Regions from separate parts of the Homo sapiens genome. Here region 1 is linked to region 2. Evidence: promoter capture Hi-C in 16 types of primary human blood cells and fetal thymus (Javierre and others, 2016). All regions are on one chromosome and are shown on one strand. Each heading gives the region's core, a stretch centred on a gene start or on the middle of the fragment in contact. The rest is flanking DNA. Distances are from core to core; before and after follow the strand shown. Region 1 has its middle 8.3 kb from the start of GADD45G. Region 2 holds the start of AUH (AU RNA binding methylglutaconyl-CoA hydratase).

Region 1 (4,567 bases), core at 1,878-4,377, 1.7 Mb after region 2:
GCACCTCTTTGCTGCATTTTCTGGGGCCAGGAACACTGCATCCTCACATGGCAAGAGGAATAGAGGGATGAAAAAGAACCAAACTCCCTCCATCAAGCTCTTTTATAGGGCACTAATCCTTTCACCAGGGCAGAGCCCTCATGCCCTAAACTCTTCCCATTAGGCCCACCTCCCAACACCATTACACTGGGGATTATATTTCCAACACATATATTTTAGAGGACATATTCAGACTATGGCACATGGCCTCATCTAGTGGGCTTCAGCAGCTGTCCTCTGAGCCTGCAGTGACCACTGAGAAGTGCCTATGATGATAGTCCCTTGGAGGACGCAGCTGGGGGTGTACCCCTGGGCTCCTAGTTTAATCCCTGTAACCCCTACCTGATATCATTTGGGCCTCATGCCACACTGTTGACCTCATATGGGCACTGCAGGAGTCTGGTGACCAGAGGAAGCCAGCAAGTTCTGCTCAGGCCTCACTTTAGCTGCCGGGGCCCCCTTGGGGAGCTCTGAAAGTGGAATGGCCCATTTGCCTTGGAATGGGCTTCCCAGTTGTGGGGTGGTCTGCTTCTCTATCAACATAATCAAGATCAAGGCCAGGGAACCCAGCATGGACAGGCAGCTCCAGATGGCTAAGCTCCTTCCCCAGCAGAGAATGCTGCCGCCGAGGGACCCCCAGCTCCTGCAGCCCCTCTGGGTGGGCAGTTGTTTCTCCTGAGTCTTCTCCAAGCTCTTGGAGAGACTGAGCATACCCAGGGGCCTAGGGGCCACATAGAAGGAGAACAGCTGCTTGCCCCTGCTCATGACGGTGAAAGCAGAAACTCACTCACCCTCCCCTGCATGGGGACTGTGGGCATCCACACAGCCTGGCAGGACCTCAAACCCTCAGTCAGCCCAAGTGGATCATTTGGTGACATGTGGGCCACCTACCAACTCCCTGGACTTTATCTTGGTCATTGTTTCGGCCTTGCAGGGCTTGAGTGATTTGCAGACATGTCAAGACACCATGGTTTTAACTGGTCTTATGATAGCTGAGCCTAACCTGCAGTTGCAGCCTCCTTCCTGGAATGTTAGCATCAAATTCTTGCTCAACGCGGGAGTTCCATGAATTGCTTTGCTGCCGTGAATCACTCTAGGGAAATTTAATCTTGCTGCAAAAGAGGATACTTTCTCCAGAGTGTAGCTGTTCCTTTCCTTTCAATTTTGCTTTTTACTGTTGTTTCACTGTTGTTCCTTAGAATTCTATTTGTCTGAACTTTGTCATAGTGAAAACGCAACACATTTTAATTATTCTCTTGAATTTTCCCACTTGCAGAAGATAGGCTGTAAATGAGTGACCCCAATCCACCATTGCAGGGTAGGGATAACGCAAGTGTCAAAAATCGGAATCAATTCTAATGACCATGTTTCATCACTGACAGGCATGTAAACCTCAAACCAAAGCAAACTCTGAAAGCTGAAAAATGAATCATGAAACTCAGTAGCAAATCCCACCTCCCCTGGAGGTGAAGTAAAACCACATCAATGGCTCGGTATGAGATCAAGATGGTCAGTGGTTATAGGACAAGAGACCCACTTTGAGGGGGGAAAATAAAAGCTTTGACATCCTTTTAACAAGTGTTCCCATAACTGAGTGACTTTGTTCGGTCAGCCTCAGCTTTCACACAGCAAGACACAAACTTTTCCTGGATCTCATTGATCTGCCTGTCCCACATCCAGAGGCTAGACAGACAGACAAACGCGTCAACTCCTCATAATGGGAAGCCACAAGCAACAATAACAAAATGAGAGATGCTTTAACCAAAAGACTGTAGTACAAGAAAATTAGGCGAGGCAGGTCTCACTTTCCCATCTGCTTCCTTCTCTGGAGAACCGTGAATTCCATAGCTATCCTGCTTGTGTTTGGCCCATCATCTAGGCATCGGATAGCAGCCCAGAGGGGATGCTAAAAGGCCTTTGTTTCAACTTTGGACCAAAAGGCCCTGGGTCAACAAAGCCCAGACCTGATGAGGAGACCTGGACCTCACTGCAACTATGGACTCACCTCTCTGAGCCCATTTCTTTGCCTGTGAAATGAAGAATAACTAAGCTTCCCTCCAACACTAAGAATCTGTGATTTGACAGCACTTGGGAAATTTCATATAAGGGAAAAGATTTGGGGATGAAAATCAGTGATTCAGTGGCCCAGTCAGTGGCCCTTGGGTCTTTTAATCCCCAGCTGCAGGTGAGCGATAGAGGGTTGCCAATGTTCTGTAGGAATGAGCGTGCTCCAATCAGAGCCAGAGACTGGACCACAGGCACAGGCCTGCCCACCAATCCCATGGTGACCTTGGAAGGAGCCCCCTGTCCCGACACTGCCACCTGCTCTGTATAGGCCACCTCCTTAAATGCTAAGGTGGAACCCAGCTCTGGTAGGGCCCAGGGCCCGCAGGCTGACTCCTCGGCTACCTCCATGCCCAGCCCCCACATCTCCTCTCTAGGCAGACGCCCGTGCACTCCATGCATTCCACCTGCAAGCAGAGTCGCCGTTCAAGAAAACATGCAGTTCACGCAGCTGGACCAGCACGTCCAAGGCCCCGGGGTATGAAAGGGCATGATATGTCTGGAGAGAGGGAGAAGCCCTGTGGGACACAGGGAGAGGCGAGAGTTGGGGAGGTGGTGCAGGACAGGAGTACAAAAGCTGTAAGATGAGGTCCAGGTAGACCCAATCGAAGCATGAGAGGTAGGGGGAGGGAAGGAGGAGACCCTGATGTTCCTGGGATGTATTCGTTCCCTATTGCTGAGTAACAAATTAGCGCAAACTCAGCAGTTTAAAACATTCGCTATTTATGGGCTCACAGTTCCATGGATCTGAAGTCAGGCAGGCTCAACTCACTTTTCTGCTCAGGGTCTCACAAGGCTTGAACCAAGCTGTCAGCCAGACTGCGGTCATCTCTAAGGCTCTGGGGAAGAGTTTGCTTCCAGCTCATCCATGTCGTTGACAGAATTCAGTTCCATGCATCTGTAGGAATCAGGTCCCCATTCTCTTGCTAGCTGTCAGCCAAGCACCACTCTCAGTTTCTAGAGGCCACCCTCAAATCTTGCTCTATGAGCCCCTCCCTCTTCAAAGCCAGCAATGGTGTGTCCAATTCTTCCAAAATCTGCAAAGTCTCTGGCTCTGCTTCCCCAACCAGCCAGTCTCTGCTTTTAACATATTCATGTATTAGGTTTGGCCCATACAGAACATCTCTCTGTTTTCAGGTCATCTGATTAGTAACCTTAATTACATCTGCAACATTCCTTAATCCCACAACTGTGGGAATAACACCAGGAGGCAGTGGTTGGAGGTTTGTGGTAGAATTCTGCCTTCTGATGAGATATCAGCTGACATATCACTAAGATAAGTAAGACAGTTTCATCTGTCAGTCACTGCGCATCCAGGTGAGAAGCAGGTGGACAGCAGCAGGGGCAAGTCTGAGCAGCTCCCCATGGGCTGTACTCAGAGGGAGTTGCTTGTGCTGGATCTGGATGGGAAAGGGACTCGGGGACTTTGCAGGGGTCCTTCTGAGACATTTACTGAACTTCTATAAAAAGAAAATTGCTCATCTCTGGCAGGTTTTGTGGAATCCCGTGCTCCCCAATAGCAAACAACACTTCATGTGACCTTCACTGATTTGCAGCCTGACACCATCAGCTCAGTCTCAAAGGGTCACCCATCCCTTCTTTCTGCTCTGAAGGCAGCTCTGCTGGATGAGCCTGTACTCCACGAGAGGCATAGAAAACACGCAGGCTGTCTCCTTTCCACAGCACCTTCTTCCACCCATTTTGGTCGGGTTGTATTTCCTAGGAAGATGCCACTTCTAAGATGTCAATTCTAATGCATTTTCCTCCATGCGACAAAGAGCTAAGGAGGACTCAGCCCACTCTGTTCTCCCAGAAACACTGTTCTATTCTGAAGCTCAGAGGGGAGTCTTGCGGGACAATTGTCTTATTGATTGTTATCAGGCTGTGCTTTCAGGCTTGCACAGTCATCCACAAGCCTTCTGCCTGCACCACTTGCCTGATCATGGTCTCAGGGATGGTGGCAGGTGGCCCTCATCCTCACCCACCCTTGCATCTCCACCCTCCCCAGCAAGCTACCCAGCCCCCAGACTCTCTTCCCTTCCACCCAAGATGAACAAGCTTCTGGACTCTGTCAGATGTACTGAGTGATTTAGGGAGAGTCAGGAAAATGGAAAAGGAAGCCCAGGTGAGCTCCCTCCAGCCACGGCCCAGGACACAGATGCAGATTGGGCCAGACCCAAAGGAGTCACATGATCTCCACTATAGCAGGGGCTCCTCTGACCAGGAGCCTTCCTGCTACCCCCAAGCCTATACTGGCATCCCTAAAAGTAGGGGACTCAGGTAGGTGACAGTAAAGAGCTGGACCCTGAGGACAGGGATGGAAGGGGCAGAAGCAGAGCATGGACAGAGCATGGAGAAACCTAGGAGACAGAGCGCTGCACCCTGGGCACACTGGGATATGTGGAGCCCACCCATGTTTGCACAGGGTGTGATACTCTCTTCACCGGGAAACTTCACCTCCTCA
Region 2 (4,667 bases), core at 1,058-3,557:
CAGAGGCAACCAGGGAGTTCCCACCCCAACTCAGAAGGGGTGGGTCTCCCGCTTGTCCCTGGCTCCCGCCAGAGAGCGTGCAGCCCTGGCCATGCCTCCCTGCTGCAGCAGTAGGCCGTCTGGAGCAGCCGCTGCCATCTCTAGTACAGTAATTCTCATAATTTTATTTTGCCTTGGTATCCATTTTGAATATGTTTAACTTTCTCATATGAGAAGCAGGGCTCAATCACCTTTGATACAGTTTCCAGTTCTCTGCTTCCTCCCAGTTCTTCAATGTGATCCATCCAGATATCTGCTTAATGCAACTGCTTCCTGGTGACCATCTCCCTATGGGACAGGTAAATGCAGCCTGCTTGACTCACCTGTTGACCTCCATAACCCACATGGACTGTGTAGATGGGCTCCAGTGACCACCTCACAGTGACAGGGTGACTCCATGGAACTTGTGCCTGCTTGTTCTAAACTCACCAATTAGAACTTCCATGGGAAACTGCTTGGGTAACACGCTGGACCCCAACAGAGGCTTTAGCTCCACAAGTGCCCCTTCCTTGACCCCCTTCCACTGGCTGAACTCCCTGTCACCTCCAGATTTACCCTCCCTCTGGTGACCACAAGACCAAATTAGAAAGAAACCATAACAATAAAAATCACAACACCCAGCAGTCAACATGTACATCATTATCAGAAAAGAGGAAAGATACAAAGGAAGCAAAGTTTTCCTTGTAGTAAACTTCAGGAAAATTTTCCTGCATGGAACTTTACAAAAGATAGAATAAAAAGTGGGCTGTGCATGGTGGCTCACACCTGTAATCCCAGCATTCTGGGAGGTCAAGTTGGGTGGATCACTTGATGTCAGGTGTTCAAGACCAGCCTGGCCAACATAGAAACACCCATCTCTACTAAAAATACAAAAATTACCCAGGTGTGGTGGTGTGTGCCTGTGATCCCAGCTACTCAGGAGGCTGAGGTGGGAGGATCATTTGAGCCTGAGATGCAGAGGTTGCAGCGAGAGGCGATCACACCACTGCACTCCAGCCTGGCCGACAGAGCCAGAACCTGTCAAAAAATAAAAAATAAAAATAAAAATAAAAGTGCCTTCAACATCATTTTACAGCAGATGCAGTAATGGAATTCAGTCTACTTTTTGTTTCTACATTGGATAAAAGTTGAGGACATAATGAAGGATGTTTTGCTTAGGACTAAAAAATACAAGAAATTTCTGTGGCACTAGACGTATGCTCATAGCAGCACACTTTTCAAACAGTATTCTTTTTTTTTTTTTTTTTTTTTTTTGAGACAGAGTTTCACTCTTGTTGCCTGGACTGGAGTGCAATGGTGCAGTCTCAGCTCAGGGCAACCTCCGCCTCCCGGGTTCAAGCAATTCTCCTGTCTCAGCCTCCCGAGTAGCTGGGATTACAGGCGTGTGCCGCCACACCTGGCTAATTTTGTATTTTTAGTAGAGACAGGGTTTCACCACGTTGGCCCGGCTGGTCTCAAACTCCTGACCTCAGGTGATCCACCTGCCTCGGCCTCCCAAAGTGCTTGGATTACAGGCGTGAGCCACCGCCCCCTGCCCAGTATTCTTAAATGCAAGCTTTCCCATTAGAGATCTGATAAAAGCTAGGTAGCATTAATTATACTGCAACGTGCTTTGATGAGTACCTACACACTAAATTGATATCCCGAGTTTCTGGAAGAGCTACATACTCTAAATCCCATCTCAGCGTATGGCTTGTTTGAACCCCTGTAAGACTCTTTCCGTCCAGGAAGGGCCATGGGACATCGGTACGAGTGGGTGGGCTGGAGAAAGAACTCCTTTGCCTGTTTGCTGTTCTCATCCTTTTCCTGAACGCCACGTAGTAAACATCATTTATGCTTATCAGGGACGCTAAACCAACAACCTGAGATCCATAAGTAAGGCAGTGACCAACGATGGGCTGCCACACTTTCAGCCAACTTGAGGAGACAAAACTTTTTTGTTCACTTTTGCAGCTTACTTAACACAGGACCGCAGGGCATGGTCCAGGGAGTACGGGGAGATAATTCCCTCCGGGTGGTTCTTATAGAAAAGTCTTCCCTGAATTATTCCATAACCTTGGAAAACTACTTTCTTTCCTTTTGTATTGGACAAACCATCCAATCTCGCTTGGAGAATGGGGCAAGGCCTCGGGTCACCGGGCTTCGGCGGGGCAGTGAGGGGCGGGAACACGGCTCCGGAGGGCGGGGCCAAGCCGGAGCGAGGCGGCGGGTCCGGACGCCGTGCGCGTGCGCGCGGCAGGTCGGCGCCGGGCGGGGGCGGAGCGGCCGTCGCAGGTCCACGCCGTAAACAGACAACATGGCGGCCGCGGTGGCGGCGGCACCTGGGGCCTTGGGATCCCTGCATGCTGGCGGCGCCCGCCTGGTGGCCGCTTGCAGTGCGTGGCTCTGCCCGGGGTTGAGGCTGCCCGGCTCGTTGGCAGGCCGGCGAGCGGGCCCGGCGATCTGGGCCCAGGGCTGGGTACCTGCGGCCGGGGGTCCCGCCCCGAAAAGGGGCTACAGCTCTGAGATGAAGACGGAGGACGAGCTGCGGGTGCGGCACCTGGAGGAGGAGAACCGAGGTGAGGTGCGAACGCTGGGCAGGCGCGGGGCAGCGGGCGGCCGCTCGCTCTCAGGACGGGCATAAGGTGCAGCGTCCGCCGGCAGGACGCGGGGTCGAGGTCAGGCAGGCGCACCGAACCTGGGTCCCTCCCCTTTCTCACCTCCCTACTCACCCAGCGTGGCCGCTTCCTTGTGCACCTATTTCTTGCTTTTAATAACCTAAACGTGTACCCCCGAGCAGCTTACCTGTAAAGTGACCGCATTCAGCGCGGCAAACAGAAGTGCAGCTTACGCCCTCCGCTCCAGACAAGCCAAGGTCAATATATACCCTGGGGATTTAATCCTTGCTACCAGGCTTTATTGTTGCTGTGTAATGGCTTTCTGTAAACTCAGCTATTAGTGGTGGAGTTGTAAAAGCTGCGGTGAAACTGCCTTTTATTATTACGGAGAATCTTAAATTTGAAGCTGCTCAGCTGGAACAATTTTTCCTCTTGTTCATTTTCTCTTAGAAAGTTAGTCTTGAGGGACTGTTCCACTTCATTTAAACAATTTTGAGCACTTTTTATTTTCCTCAGCTCTGGCGATAAGAATGTGGATGGTATGGATCTTGCCCTTGAGCTACCTTCTACGGGAGGAGACATCATTAGCAATACAATACAGAGCTTTGAAGGCTTTGAAGGAGGCTGACAATCCTAGGGAATACTGTTACAGCTCAGTTCCTTTCACTGGCAGTGCAGGGAAAAGCTAAAAGGGTCGTGAAGGGTGGAATAGCAGTTTCCACCCTTAACCTCCGGGTTAAGCCAGAGGACCAGTGTTTTAATTTTGACATGCATTTGTTGAGCACCTATAATCTGTTAAGCAGAAGTGAAAAGCGTGTAAGTCGTGATTGGTTTTAGTGTAGTGAAGCAGATCCTGGTTATTAGTAGGCTGTGTGAACTTTCAAGGCATGGTAAGAGGAAAGGGCTGTAATACCTGCAGGGTTTCGCCATTTGAAAGGGGTTCCAAGGCATTCTTTAATAGGCAGTGGATTTTGCCATTTGTGAGGGTTCTTGGGCAGACTTATCTCACGTGTAAAACAGGAAAAACAATACCAACTTTATAGGTTTGTTATGAAGATGAGATGAGATTGTTAATGTAAATTGCCACTAGCACGTAGCAGTGCTTCAGGAGTGTGATGAATGACTTTATTCCTTACTTATTATTCCAGACAGAGACAAGAACATGGTCAAAGGCATGGAGATGTGAACATGTGTGGTGTATTTGGGACGTAACATAAGGCAAGTGTGGCATAAGCAGAATAGTAAGAAATTCAGCTGGAAGCATAGACTAGCACTGGAGTGATTAGAGCCTGAATGCCATCATCTTTTGGGTAAGCTTAGTCATGCCGGGACTTCACTTCCGTTAAGTGTACCAACAATATGTTAGATATAAAGGGATTGCAAGTACAGCTACTAATATGCACCATATTCTATTTTTTTGGTCGTTATGACTTGAATGCAATTAAAGGAATATTTGTGCAGAATGTCTGGACAGACTTTAAGTTAGGATCTGAATGGACAGAAGAGAGAATATCAGATAATAAAAGATAATAAACGAAAATTTTTTTGGGTATCATGGTTTCTTTTTTTTTTTTTCTTTAGCCTTGATTTCCTGATGAGATAGGACATACATCATGGTTTCTTAAAGTTGACCCCGCCTCCTTTGAGAATTGGCAAGAATGACGACTCAGGCTTGGCTAACATTACCTAGGCTTTGCTTTGCTTTACTGTTGAACCAGCAATAAGCAGTGCAAAGAAAAACATGAGGTCAAGGGTACTACAGGTGAAGGAGTTTCCTGGGTGCCTTTATTTCTCTTAGAGGTGGGTCCAAAATTTGGTGCTCTCAGCAGCCTCTAAGGAATAGGATAACTCTCCTAGTCACAGGAGCCTCAAACAGCATGCAGCACTTTAGGTGGGTGGGGGTAAGTAGTGCAGAATACACCAGGTCTCATCTGTTATCTGGGCTCCATATTTGTAATTTGTTGTAGGAGGCATAGCTCTATAACCAAATTTCCTTTTCTTTTCTTTTTTTTTCTTTTGAGATGGAGACTG

Evidence for each region. Contacts are between HindIII fragments. The CHiCAGO score rates a contact against its expected background, and 5 or more counts as called.
Region 1: a fragment that was not itself captured here is called in contact with the fragment with the promoter of AUH in region 2 in 1 of 17 cell types (activated CD4 T cells); the score reaches 5.1 in activated CD4 T cells.

The regions. Positions count from the first base shown.
Region 1 is chr9:89,610,998-89,615,564 of GRCh38, reverse strand. No RefSeq gene overlaps it. Among named protein-coding and RNA genes, the nearest start is that of GADD45G, 8.3 kb to the right of the region's middle. RefSeq lists enhancers at 599-1,140, 3,672-4,220. The HindIII fragment of the contact is 2,072 bases long and covers 2,092-4,163 here.
Region 2 is chr9:91,359,558-91,364,224 of GRCh38, reverse strand. It overlaps AUH (AU RNA binding methylglutaconyl-CoA hydratase), which reads left to right and starts at 2,307. Exons shown (of 10, transcript NM_001698.3): 1 at 2,307-2,597. The coding sequence starts at 2,336. RefSeq lists a silencer at 2,137-2,576. The HindIII fragment of the contact is 2,357 bases long and covers 1,597-3,953 here.